Regions from separate parts of the Homo sapiens genome. Here regions 1, 2, 3 and 5 are each linked to region 4. The links are contacts of gene promoters, found by promoter capture Hi-C in human tissues and cell types (Jung and others, 2019). All regions are on one chromosome and are shown on one strand. The core of a region is centred on a gene start or on the middle of the fragment in contact, and the rest is flanking DNA. Distances in the headings are between cores, read along the strand shown.

Region 1 (2,700 bases), core at 76-2,575, 1.5 Mb after region 4:
ACACACACCCAATTCATTAGCCTATCTCTAAATACATTCACAAATACTGCTAGTTTTCCATTTCTGTATCACTGTTAACACAGTATAATGGGTGGTACAGTAGATGAAAATATAGGTTGCCTGAATTCAAATCTTAGTTCTAACATGTACTAAATTCATTGAATTTGGGAACATTTATCAACTATTTAGGTTTCAAAGCTGAAATATAGAGAAAACAGTAACTTTGAGGTAAATCACTTCTTTTTTCCCGCTTTTATTTTAGGTTCAGGGAGTACATGTGCAGGTTTGTTCCACGGGTAAATTACGTGTCACTGAGGTTTGGTTTATGTATTATCTCATCACCCAGGTACTGAACATGGTACCTGATAGGTAGCTTCACAACACTCTTCTCTAGCCTTCCCCCACTAGTAGTCTTCAGTATTTTTTTTTTTTTTTTTTGAGATGGAGCCTCACCTTGTTACTCAGGCTGGAGTGCAGTGGTGCGATCTCAACTCACCACAACCTCTGCTTCAGGGTTCAAATGATTCTCATGCCTCAGCCTCTCAAGTACATGGGGCTACAGGCATGCGCCACCATACCCGGCTAATTTTTGTTTTTTTAGTAGAGATGAGGTTTTTGCCATATTGGCCAGGCTGGTCTCGAACTCTTGACCTCAAGTGATCCACCCACCTGGGCCTCCCAAAGTGCTGGGATTACAGGCGTGAACCATGGCACCTGGCCCTCCTCAGTGTCTACTGTTCCAATCATTACATCCATATGTACTTAATGTTTAGCTCCCACTTATAAGTGATAACATATGGTATTTGGTTTTCTGTTCCTGTGTTAATTCACTTAGGTTAGTGGCCTCCCATTGCATCCACGTTGCTGCGAAGAACATGATTTCATTCTTTTGATAGTTGTGTAGTATTCTATGGTGTATATGTGTTCCATTTTGTTTATCCAGTCCCTCACTGATGGCCATCTAGGCTGATTCCATGTCTTTGCTATTGTGAATAGTGTTTCCATGAACATTTGAGTGCATGTGTCTTTTTGATAGAGTAATTTATTTCCCTTTGTGTACATTCCCAGTAATGGGATTGCTTGTTTGAATGGTAGCTCTCTTTTAAGTTCTTTGAGAAATCTCCAAACTGCTTTCCATAGTGGCTAAACTAATTTACATTCTTACAAACAGTGTATAAGCCTTCCCTTTTCTCTGCAATTTCACCAACATAGGTTATTTTATGACTTTTTAATAATTGCCATTCTGACTGGTGTGAAATGGTATCTCACCGTGGTTTTGATTTGCATTTCTCTAATGATTAGATGATTAATGATTAGTGTCTTCTTTTGAGAACTGTCTGTTCACGTCCTTGGCCCATCTTTTAAGAAGGTTATTTGGTTTTTGTTTGTAGAATTGCTTACATTCCTTATAGATTCTGGACATTAGATCTCTGTCAGATGTGTAGTTTGTGAATATCTCTCCCATTCTGCAGGTTGTCTGTTTACTCTCTTAATAGTTTCTTTATCTGTGCAGAAGCTTTTTAGTTTAATTAGGTCCCACTTGTCATTTTTTTGTTGTTGCGATTGCTTTTGGTGACTTAATCACAAAATCGACAGTAACAAAGAGTGGAGAAAGGACCCCCTATTTAATAAGTGGTGTTGGGATAACTGGCTAGCCCATATGCAGAAGATTAAAACTGAACCCCTACATTTTACCATATGGAAAAATTAACTCAAGACAAATCAAAGACTTAACTGAGACCCTAAACTATGAAAATCCTAGAAGAAAACCTAGGAAATACCACTCTGGACATGTCATGTATATTGAGAGCTAAAAGGTGTTTTTTTTTTTCTCTGAAATTTTGCCAGTGCAATTAAAGCAAATATGCAAAAACTATTTATAAAAAAATTATTTTGATCCATGGCTAAAGAACCCACAGAATGGAAAATTGTTGTGTCTGCCACTCCGAGCTTTCTTAAAATAGAGCAATGAGCAATGACACTGAGTACATGGTATGCCTGTAAGTTGCAAGAACCTTTGTACAAAACTCTTGTGTGTTTGAACACATTAAAAATAGATAATGTAATTTTGTCAAATATATATATATATGTATACACACACACACACACTTATGTATATACCCATATGTATACTTATATATATTATACTTCCATATAGGTATATTTGGAAATATACACGCAGGTATAATATATAGAGAGACATATGTACATTCAAAAGGAGTGGGGGAGAGAGAGAGAGACTTGTATAGGCAATTTTCTACTATTTTCTTGTCTGTGTGAGCTTTTCCCAAATAAAGTATCAGGGTAGTATAAATAGTTATTAGTTGGTTTAAGATTAAACAGAAAGAGAAATGCCAACTGAATGGTGAATTTAGAATTCAATAACTAAGCTCAAAAGCCATCAAAATGCATTGTTTTTATGCATATCACTTTAGCTGTTTTTTTTTTTCTGGTAATATCTGAATTTAGATGGAGCCATAGGAGAATTGCATAGAACATAGTCTATATTAAGGAGTTGGATTTTATTCCCATGGAAACATTTTGGCAATGAGTTATGCAAAAGAAAATGACTAAGCATTTTAGAATCTGATGCTGCTCTGTTTAATTGTTTTTAAAATGTTCAAGAGCTTTAAACAATTTAAATGATTGAAATTCGAACTGTTTAGATGAACTGCCTAATAAGCTGCATTTCAGTTGGAA
Region 2 (2,700 bases), core at 20-2,519, 1.5 Mb after region 4:
TGACATTTGAACCAAATTTCTGGATTCAGAAAACAGTTTAGTCTGTATTGTTTTAAATATTTAATTTTCTTTGAGATATCATAATTACACATCCATTTATAATTCATTTAATAAATGTTTATTGTTATGCATAATGACTGACATTATGCAGTCATAATGCCTGCCTTGATTATAAAATGATAAGCAAGGCAAACATATTCCTGCCCTCTTGTGCTTAGTAACTAGGGAGTCTCATCAGAGCTTACATGAAAGTAAATAGACAACTTTTGCTTTTCAGTATAGAGTTGAAGAAGGTTTTTCAAATGTATTAGGGCAGCCAGATAATATGTTTATAACAAAGCCCAGAAATCTAGAGGCTTTTCTAAACCCTACATGGACAATCTTTCTGAAAAGAGAAGATACAGAAATTTGGGAATACATGTCAGATACAGAAATTTTGCAAGTTAATTTTCCTAATATACAGTTTATCCACCTACAAAGTAAAGATAATAGTAATGCCTATGCCATACTTTTGGATGAAAATTGTATTATATATTACCTGTAATACATAGTGCCTAGAATATATGTGTGTGTCTGCATGAAACTGATATATTATCGATATTATTATGTATTCAGTGGAGTTCCCAGTGCAAATCATGAGAGAAAGGCTGAATACCAGAGAAAAGGCATAAGGGAGAAAAAGGGAATAAAATTTGACCATCTATTGACCCTCAATAGTTATAAATCCTCAGTAGTTGGGAGGACAAAAGAACTTCAGAGAGTGAGCATATACTAATAAAATAATTTTAAATGCAAAGTTGCAGTTTTAATAAGGTATTCTGACTCACTCCATAAGTCTCTCAAATTCCCACATATTTATCAAAATGTCAGTGCTTTGTGCAATATGTATATAGGCTCACAGGAATAAATGTAACAATGGATATATGTGTATTTATATGTCATATGTGAAGTGTGTGCTTATATATGTAAAGTATATATATATAAGTATATATATAAAGTATGTGTGTATAAATATTTTATACATAGACGCATGCACACACAAACACACACACATATTAATGCAAACCGGCAGGTAAGAAGAAAACTGATACTAGAGTGCATAATGAAAATGTTTCTTTACTTCTTCCTACAGATATCGGCAAAAATCTTGGTCTTGGACAGGACATTTTTCTTCCACACAGTGTGCAATTGGTTTGTTAAACCAAACTTCTACAGATTTCAAGCCCAAATGAATGTCCCAACTCCCATCTCATTTGCATTTGCATAGGTTTATATTTATGAAATCAGACATATATTTGAGGAATATATTTTAATTAATAAATTTATATATTTTAATTAATAAGTTTTTGATAAATTCCTATCACAGTATCTATTTAATAATAAAGACCACAGAAACAATTTTTAAAAGAAATTAGAAAAGCAATTAAAGTGGCCCAAGTACCTTAAGGACAGGAATTCAATTTAGATATATATTCTTGTAATAAAAGCATTCCTGAGAAAAGAGGAAAAATAACCCCTCGAGTGTCATACACATTTATATTTGTAATTTTTTAATTGATTTTGTTTGTTACTTTTAACTTTTATTTTTAAATTCAGGGGTACAAGTGCAGGTTTGCTTGATCTTTTTCTTGTTAAAAAATAAAAAAGATAGAAATTACTAGGGAGACTGACTACTTTTTGTACAAAAATGCTCAATCTCTGTAAAAATATTACCATTAAAAATGAAGCTTGCCAATATCTGTCCACTCTTGTGGTCAATAATATCTATGATATGACCATGTTGTCCTAAGCAAAGTGCTAATTATATACACATATAAGATGAATAATTAGAAACCAGGAAATAACTTTAGAAAAAGAGTAACATAACATTTGGAGTATCAGCAAGGTGCGTTGGTAAATATTTTTATTGCTAGTCAGATACGTTGATCAAGTATGTAGGAGAGACATACAGAGTTAGATTTAAGAATCTTCAGCAATTTAACAATGATTATAGATTTGCATATAGGAAAGATTTTTTTAGGAGAAGAATTTTAGATATTTGCTTTCTATTTGTTTTTCCAACATGTGAATATTTTTTCATATATTTAAGATATTCTCACCTATTGTATAAACTCAAATCATTGGTTTCTCTGTTTCCAATGCAACGTCCCAGGGCACAGACCTATGAACAAGTCTCTATCAGGTAGAGGCTATTGATTAGATCATGCTCCTCTATTCTACAATGCCTTTTTTCTTGCAAAGGCTGAATATTTAAAAATTATATTGTTCTGAAATAATTGCAGCTAGCATTCAGATATAAAAAGATTCTCCAAACTGTATGCACTCTCCTAATTTTTGGCAATTAGAACTAAAGAGATGTGAGAGTTGCCTTCTTGTTTTTTCTAAGGTTGTTTCTTTGCTGATTCAAAGAATTTTCAACTGAACATGTTCTAGCCAGGAGAAAGAGGAGAGGAAAGAAGAGAAATATGGATTTCTTCAAATATGGATTTCTTCTTAGAGGCATTAAATACAGATTTTCATCAGTTTTCTAGGTCTAAGTTGCTTCTAGCTAGCCATGTACCAAATAGAACCCAGGAGTGGTATCGTTACAGAAGGGTTCAATAAATATTTGTGAAGAATCAGTAGATGAATTAGCAGCAGACTTTTTTTTTGGAAGCCAGTAATGTCAGAAACATGGAGATTAGAACACATTCCAGCAGC
Region 3 (2,700 bases), core at 109-2,608, 1.2 Mb after region 4:
TCCCTAGTACTTTTTGGTTATTAAAAGTTCATCTAGGCTGGTGTGATGGCTCATGCCTGTTAATTCCAGCACTTTGGGAGGGCAAAGCGGGCAGATTACTTGAACTCAGGAGTTTGAGACCAGCCTGGGGAACATGGTGAAACCCTGTCTCTACAAAAAATAAATTTAAAAAAATTGTCTGGTGTGGTGGTGCACACAAGTAGCCCCAGCTACATTGGAGGCTGAGGTGGGAGAATCAACTGAGCCCTGAAGTCAGTGAGCTGTGATGACACTGTTGCACTCCAGCCTGGGTGACACAGTTAATACCATAATAAAGTGAGTCCACAAATTTTTTGGTTTCCCAGTGAATTCCAAAGTTATGTTTATACCATAGCATAGTCTATTAAGTGCATAATAGCATTGTGTCTAAAAATCAATGTGTAGACCCTTTATTTAAATTTTTTTATTGTTCTAAAATGCTAAAAATCATCTTTTCCTTCAGTGAGTCATAATCCTTTCGCTGGTGGAGGATCATGCTTAAAACTTAATGGCTGTAGACTGATTGGGACGGTGGTTGCTGAAGGTTGAAGTGGCTGCAGCAATTAGTTCAAGACAACAATAAAGTTTGTCACATTGATTGACTCTTCCATTCACATACAATTTCTCTGTAGCATTCAATGCTTTTTCTTAGCATTTACCCACAGTAGAACTTCTTTCAAATAGGAATAATCTTCTCAAATCCTTTAGGTACTTATCAAGTAAGTTTATGTAATATTCTGAATCATATGTTGTCCTTTCAACGACGTTCACAGCATCCTCATCAGGGTTGGATTCCATTTTAAGAAACCACATTTCTTGTTGATCCATAAAAGCAACACTTCATCTGGTCAAGTTTTATTATGAGATTGCAGGAATTCAGTCACACCTAACTGGCACAAGAGGTCAAGTTTTTAGCCTGTCATGACCTTTGACATGTCATCCACACTAGGCATAATCATTTCAAGCTTTTGATTTAAAATGAAAGGTATAAAACTTTTCCTTACCCTTGAATACTTAGCATCTAGAATGGTGAATACTTAATAGCATCTATAATGGGTTATTAATTGGCCTAATTTCAATATCTTTATATCTCAGGAAATAGGGAGACCCCGGACAAGGGAAAGAGATTGGGAATAACTGGTTGTTGAGCAGTCAGAACACACAAAACATTTATCAGTTCAGTTCACTGTGTTATCTGGACATGGTTTGTGGTATCCCCAAACAATTATAATAGTAACATCAAAGATCACTGACCACAAATCATCATTAGTGATATTATAATAATGAAAGAGTTTGGAATATTATGGGGATTACCAAAATGAAATACAAAGACATGAAGTGAGCATATGTTGTTGGAAAAATGAGGCTAATTAACTTCCTTGCTGGTTGCAGAGTTACCACAAACAATTTGTAAAAAATGCAATATTCAGCCGTGCACGGTGGCTTAGGCCTGTAATCCTAGCACTTTGGGAGGCCAAGGCGGGCAGATCACGAGGTCAGGAGATTGAAACCATCCTGGCTAACACGGTGAAACCCCGTCTCTACTAAAAATACAAAAAATTAGCCAGGCGTGGTGGCGGGCGCCTGTGGTCCCAGCTACTGGGGAGGCTGAGGCAGGAGAATGGCGTGAACATGGGAGGTGGAGCTGACAGTGAGCCGAGATCGCGCCACTGCACTCCAGCCTGGTTGAAAGAGCAAGACTCCGTCTCAAAACAAAAAAAAAAAAAAAAGAAAGAAAAGAAAAAAAAGCAATATTCAATTAGGAAAAAGTGTATATATGCAAAGCACAATAAAGCACAGTGCAATAAAATATGCCATGCTTCTATTTTGAAACAGGAATGGTGGTGATGCTTCCAACTTTTTTTTTCTTTTTCTTTTTCCTCTGTATTGCTTTGACTACTTGGGGTTTCTTTTTTGGTTCCATAAGAATTTTAGCATTTTTTTTCTATTTCTGTGAAGAATACCATTGGAATTTTCATAGGGATTGTGTTAAATTTGTATATTGTTTTAAGTATTATTAACATTTTAGCAATTTGAGTTCTCAGCCATAAACCCAGTATATATTTACATTTTTTGTGTCTTTTTCAATGTTTTTCATCAATGCTTTATAGCTTTCTGTGTACAAATCTCTCATTTCCTAGATTAAATTTATTCCTAGGTATTTGTTTTGATGCTACCATAAATGGGATTATTTTCCTTATTTTCTTCAGGTAGGCTGTTATTTGTATATAAAAATGCTATTAATTTTTGTATGTTGATTTTTTGTTCCTGCAACTTTACTGAATTTTTTAGTTCTAACAGTTTCTCTCTCTTTCTCTCTCTCTGTGTGTGTGTGTGTGTGTCTGTGTGTGTGTGTGTGTGTGTGTGTGTGTGCATGTGAAATCTTTGGGGTTTTCTATATATAGGATCATGTCATCTACAAATAAACTATTTTATTTATTCCTTTCCAATTTGAATGCTTTTTTTTCTGGCCTGATTGCTATTGTTAGCACTGCTAGTTCTTTGTTGACTAGAAGTGGTGATAGTGGACATACTTCTTTTTATATAAAATTTTAAAATTTTCTTCTTAATTTCTTCCTTGACTCATTGGTCATGTTGTTTCATTTCCACATGTTTGCATATTTTCTAAGGTTCCTCTTGTTATTCATTTGTAGTTTTATTCAACTGTGGTCAGAAAAGTCA
Region 4 (2,700 bases), core at 141-2,640:
ACGTTAAATTTGATCATTTGGAATCAGTCTTTTACATAAAATGTAAGCTATTTAAAATAGTTAATTTTTAAAGCCACTATTGATGTCCCTTTGTTTAAAGTTCTATTCATGGTCACTATAATAACACGAGGCTCTATTGTGGGGTTATGCATAAACTCACACTACCTTATGTGATCTTATGTTAATGCTTTCCTTTTAGTATCTTCTTGTAGCTTGGTAATATTTAAAATTTGTTGATACTCTCTTTGGTTGTGTTCATTATCTTCATTTAGGGAGATGTTGGGGAAGATTTTGTTACTAAAAGCTGTTACATATTAAGGTTTTGTTTTAAAAGGACTTTGAAAAAAAAACTCTTAAGGTTTTCCTTGCTACTATTTAATGAAATTTCACTGCATTGTGTCTTTTGATAGCCATTTTTAAGAGAGCATTTAATTTACTAGATAAGGATTCAGTTTGACCTAATTTGATAGAATATTGCTGTGTTTTTTGTAAAGGGCTACAGATTTTTTTTTAAGTTTAATTTCTTAAGGAATCCTTTAAACACATCTTCTTCTTATTTGCCTTTTCCCTCTGATGTCTATTACCCAGAATTACTCCAAGCTACATATTTAGCTGCATAAAGCAGTGACAGCTTGTCTTCTAAACAATGACAAATTTTAAAATCAGATATTAAGAAACCTTTTCATAGTTTCAAGGGCAGTGAGCTGTATGAACTTGCTTATCAGGTATTAGTGCCTCCAGGGCTATAAAAAGGTAACACATTTAAATGACTATCATACACAAGATATTGACATACCTTCCTTGGTCAGGCCATTTATGTGAAGAGGATTATGCCCACTGAAAATACTTTTGGCACGCCATCACTTCAGCAAAAAAGATGCTATCGAACATGCGCACATCCCCCAACAGTCTGCCTCCTGCGATTGCTTTTCACAGTATCCAAAGTGTCCATCTGTCTGCTTGTCTTCGAGTTACCCTCCTTGTTCATATGGGTCCTAGTCTTCTGAAATTTTCCCTTTCTTTCATTTTCTCTCTTTCGTTAAACAAAAGAGCTGTAGTTGCCCGTTCTGCTTGTAGCACTGTTGACTCTTCCCGACAGTTGATGCATTGAAGCTTTTTACATCTGCTATTTTCCTGGCTGGACAATGCAGTGCTGTGTTCTCGTCTCAGTATCCATATTTCTACTAATAACACTGAGCTGCAATGTAAAGCAGCCAGAGCTAAAATGTAGTGCTTCAGTTGTATTGGAAAAGAATAGGATTTACCTCTCTTCTTTCGTTGTTGCCTGGCAGCTGCAGGAAGGATTTTGAGCAGTTTTAATGGGGTTTTAGTCTATAATATGAAATCCACGGTTCCTCAGCTGCTGCACAGGCAGGCAGCAGTTTAAATGTGGGCTTGACAGATGCTCTCTCTGACAGAGCAGAATTTAACGTCACTGCTTGGCTGAATCCCACGTGATTGTTTGCATTCATTTTGACTAAAAACCTAAGGTAGGGAGAAGCTTAGAGATTTTGCTTTTATGTGATAAATTATATATGTTGAATGCAAGTGTAGTGATGAGTGAATAATTTGAAAATGTGATGATTATGAAATGGTTATGATTTTATTTTTTCCAGCTTACTTCCTTTTTTAACTTTATTCTTAAGTACAGGCTTTCTAAGTGTTTTCTGTGTTAGATGTTGGTTTTCATGTTTCTTACATGCTTTTGTAGGGTGTAAGCAGTATAAGCTTTTGTGTGTAAGTTGGTGTAATTTAACCCCTTCAGTGCATTCTCTTCTTGAAGTTTTTTTTCTCTGCTTTCAAATTGCTCTTGATTTTTTACTAATATGTAGTTAAGACCTATGGTTTCTATTGAAACCATGTATCTTTGTAATTTAGATCCCCCCCCCCGTTTTCTGGGGTTTGTATAAATAAGCTGTCTTGGATTACTTTACTAATGCATGATGTGATACAGCCCACTTCTTTTTTGCTCTTATGTGGTTTTTGGTGTTCTTGATGGCAGAAAACTTTATTTTAAATCACTTTTTAATGTTGTCATTTATTTTTTATTTATTTTTCCTTCCCTTTAAAATTACATGTATCGTAGAATTCAGTAAAATGATGTAATAGATATAGCACACTTGTACAGGATCTGGGGGTAATGAGATTTTACTAATTATGTTTACTTATTCTAATGTTTCAGAAAGATTTAATAACTTGCCATGAGGCAGATTTTATTAACACTACACACTCACTGAGATTTTTCTAATATGGTTAGTTTCTGGGGCTGGCACCTTCTTTTCTTACTGCAGAGCAGTAGGGAAGGTTTTTTTAAATTTTTTGTTGTAGTAAAAAGCCTTTATTATCAGTTTTTCCTCTGTGACTCTAGGGACAGTAATTCAGTCCTAGAAAGTTATAGTTTTGGAGCTTAAGCTAAAGGTTAACAGTTATATACATATTCTTCATCTCACTGCCTCCACCATTAATATATGCTATTTCAAATGAATATGAATTTGTTTTCTCTGATATTAAAAAAAATTTTGTCCACATATTTTTGAGCTTTGCTGATGAAATGTGCTTTGTAGTTTTAAGAACCCCACTGTATTAGAAATGTTAGAAGGATCGTTAAAGAAAAAAAAGAATTTTATAAATAGGAAACCTAAAGCCTAGACTGAGCTTTGACTTTTCCTAGTTAAGTTTGAAGGAGAGGACTAAAACCCA
Region 5 (2,700 bases), core at 136-2,635, 1.3 Mb after region 4:
AAATAGATCACTTTAGAACTTGATATTGTTTGAAAAAACAAATAGAAATGCTAGAAATACATGGTAATGGAAATAAAGTGTTTAGTGTGCAATCAGAAAACTGGGCACAGAAGAGGAAAGAATCAGTAAGCTAGAAGACAAGTTAATAAAAGTTATTCAAAGTGGAACACAGAAAAAAAGATACAAAAACACCCAGAGCAGAGCATCTGAGATTTGCATATCAAATAGTTTAACATTGAAGAGTCTCCAATGAAGTAGGGTCTCATAATTTATTAAAGAATTGATCATTTCATCTATTTTTATCATTTTTTATATAATACTGTCAGATCATCAGATTGATGATTTGGAACTGTAGTTATAATGTAATAGGCATTTAAAATCTACTAACAATTTGCAATGTCCTTTAAGTTTGAGGTTGAGTGCCACAAAATTATCAGACCAAGAATAAAAGGGCAGAGATAGAAATATATCAAACCATAATTTTTTCTGATACCTTGAATATGGATTTAAAGAAACATAATCAGATCTATTTCATTTAACAAGGATTTATTGAATATTTTCTCTCATGCATATTTTTATGTGTATTTGAACAAGATTTGCTTTGTGGTTGGTCATATTCAATATATAGAATTGCATTCTCTTATTTCTTTTAAGTTGGGAGAACATCAACTTGACCCTGAAATTTTCTATTTGCTATATTCTTCATGTACCTATATTTTGTTTACATTAATCTTATTTCAGTGCTCTTAAAATATACTTGTGGCAGCAACTAGATAATTCATCAAGCCTGTTAACTTCGTTATTCTGGTTAAGACGTGCACCGTTTCCAGGCTTGACCCCAAAACGCTTCCTACTGCATCTTCCAATTGCTCTCATCTCCCATCTAGTGGCTGCATAATATCAGAGCATCCCCTTCTCTGGATACAGTGTGTATCAATTTCCTGACCCTATTCTCACTCCAGCACTCACAATCACTACCAAGTAGAATTTATGTGAATGAGAAATAGCAATCTCCCAGACAAAATCATTGAACCTCCATGTACATCTGTACAGCTTGTGCTACTCTAACTGGTATAATGCTTCATACTTTTTGTTGAGTTTTATAATAAAAAACATGGTAATAGATAAGTCAAGAAGAAAAGGTTAAACATGGTGTTCCTCCTCATTGCTAAGCTTTTTGTGAAATTGTGTGATATTTTTATTATTATTCTGAGATCACTCTACTTTATGTTTAAAGTTGTGTCTCTACTCAACCCACAAAAATACTCTCCCATTACAGTAGATATTTTCTTTGTACCTTCTGCGATACTTAATACTTTCATGTGTTTAGCTCTTGGCAAATAAATGTTATTCTTAATGAACAAATGAAATGAGTAAATATTTGAATATACTATTTAGTCAACTGAGTTAATATATTTTATTTTTATAGCAAACTATGAGAACATATTTATACATATACATTGTTTTACTTTACAGAAAATCTCCAAAAGAGACATGTAGGTTTAAAGCAAAAAAAAAAAAAAAAAAATAAGAAGAAAGGCAGTAGTATTGTTCATTACTTTTTGACTGAGTAGTCAAAACCAAACATTTATAAAACACCTTCCTTATTTAAGGTGTTTGGTTAAGTGGTGATTATATAGTCATGTCTTTGCTAATTACACAATCTAGTTAGAAAATCAGACAAGTAAAAATTACACACAGAAAAAGTGACATTAATAGAAAAGCACTATTACAAAGAAAATTACATATTAATAATGGAGTACTAGGCTCAGAAATTAAATTTTTCATAGTATGAAGACAGTTTTAGAGGAATTCTCATAGGAAATGAATTTTAGCTGAATCTGAGAGATGACGATCAAGAAAAGAGAAAACAGGGTTTTCCCAAGCTAAAAACCCAGTGGCATGTGAACAGACAGGAAGCTTTAAGAGAAAGCAGTATCTCTTTCAGTAAGGACAATATTTCCGAAGAGTAAGTGGAGAATTGTGGTCGGCATAGTCCAAACTCTGAAGTTCTAAGGATGTCGTTCCAAGGATTTGGGGGCGTTAGTGGGAAAACCACTGGATGCTAACAACATACCTTAGTCCAGAAGGGGACATGATCACTTTTACCAACTTCTCACTGTGTTCTATAACACTGGTGCCAACCATGACAACTCATCAGAAAAATCAAAAGCTTCCTAGCAGTTGTCTCATTTTTACTTTCATTCTGCAGTCTAATTTTTATATTGTAGCCAGAGTATTTCACTCTAATCTAAGTCTGATAATATTTCTTCCATGCTTAAAAAACTCCAGTAGATCACACTGAAATTAGAATGAAAAAATAAAATTCACTTTTTTACCATAACCCACATAAACGGAACACTGTCTATCTCTCTGAAGTCATATCCTACTTCCTTCCCTCGTATTTACTGTTTCATTGCTGAACTGGCACTTTTTCTTTATTAAAACAAATTGTATCTTATTGATTTTTTTTTCCTTAGGCATCAGACACACAAATTGAGACGATTTGTTCATAGCACCTTTTAATCACCAGAGTCTATGCAAGGTCTGTGTTTGATTTTTAATATTTAGTTGATTCATTCATTCATTGATTCCACTCAATTTTGTAGCCATCTCCCACTATCCTCTCCCCATATGAAAGTAACAAATTTTATGTATTTAATATGTATTTTTATAAGACTATACTCTTACAAAAGGAGG

Evidence for each region. Contacts are between HindIII fragments. The study calls those that stand out against the background at their distance.
Region 1: a fragment that was not itself captured here is called in contact with the fragment with the promoter of B3GALT2 in region 4 in 1 of the 25 tissues and cell types used here (dorsolateral prefrontal cortex).
Region 2: a fragment that was not itself captured here is called in contact with the fragment with the promoter of B3GALT2 in region 4 in 1 of the 25 tissues and cell types used here (hippocampus).
Region 3: a contact is called between a fragment that was not itself captured here and the fragment with the promoter of B3GALT2 in region 4, in 1 of the 25 tissues and cell types used here (dorsolateral prefrontal cortex).
Region 5: a contact is called between a fragment that was not itself captured here and the fragment with the promoter of B3GALT2 in region 4, in 1 of the 25 tissues and cell types used here (dorsolateral prefrontal cortex).

The regions. Positions count from the first base shown.
Region 1 is chr1:194,715,556-194,718,255 of GRCh38, forward strand. No RefSeq gene overlaps it. Among named protein-coding and RNA genes, the nearest start is that of LINC01724, 1.4 Mb to the right of the region's middle. The HindIII fragment of the contact is 5,509 bases long and covers 1-2,700 here.
Region 2 is chr1:194,732,255-194,734,954 of GRCh38, forward strand. No RefSeq gene overlaps it. Among named protein-coding and RNA genes, the nearest start is that of LINC01724, 1.4 Mb to the right of the region's middle. The HindIII fragment of the contact is 4,833 bases long and covers 1-2,700 here.
Region 3 is chr1:194,396,433-194,399,132 of GRCh38, forward strand. No RefSeq gene overlaps it. Among named protein-coding and RNA genes, the nearest start is that of LINC01031, 1.1 Mb to the left of the region's middle. The HindIII fragment of the contact is 6,004 bases long and covers 1-2,700 here.
Region 4 is chr1:193,185,223-193,187,922 of GRCh38, forward strand. It overlaps B3GALT2 (beta-1,3-galactosyltransferase 2), which reads right to left and starts at 1,391. Exons shown (of 2, transcript NM_003783.3): 1 at 797-1,391. All of the region lies in intron 10 of CDC73 (cell division cycle 73), which reads left to right. The HindIII fragment of the contact is 2,577 bases long and covers 1-2,339 here.
Region 5 is chr1:194,466,024-194,468,723 of GRCh38, forward strand. No RefSeq gene overlaps it. Among named protein-coding and RNA genes, the nearest start is that of LINC01031, 1.2 Mb to the left of the region's middle. The HindIII fragment of the contact is 3,400 bases long and covers 1-2,700 here.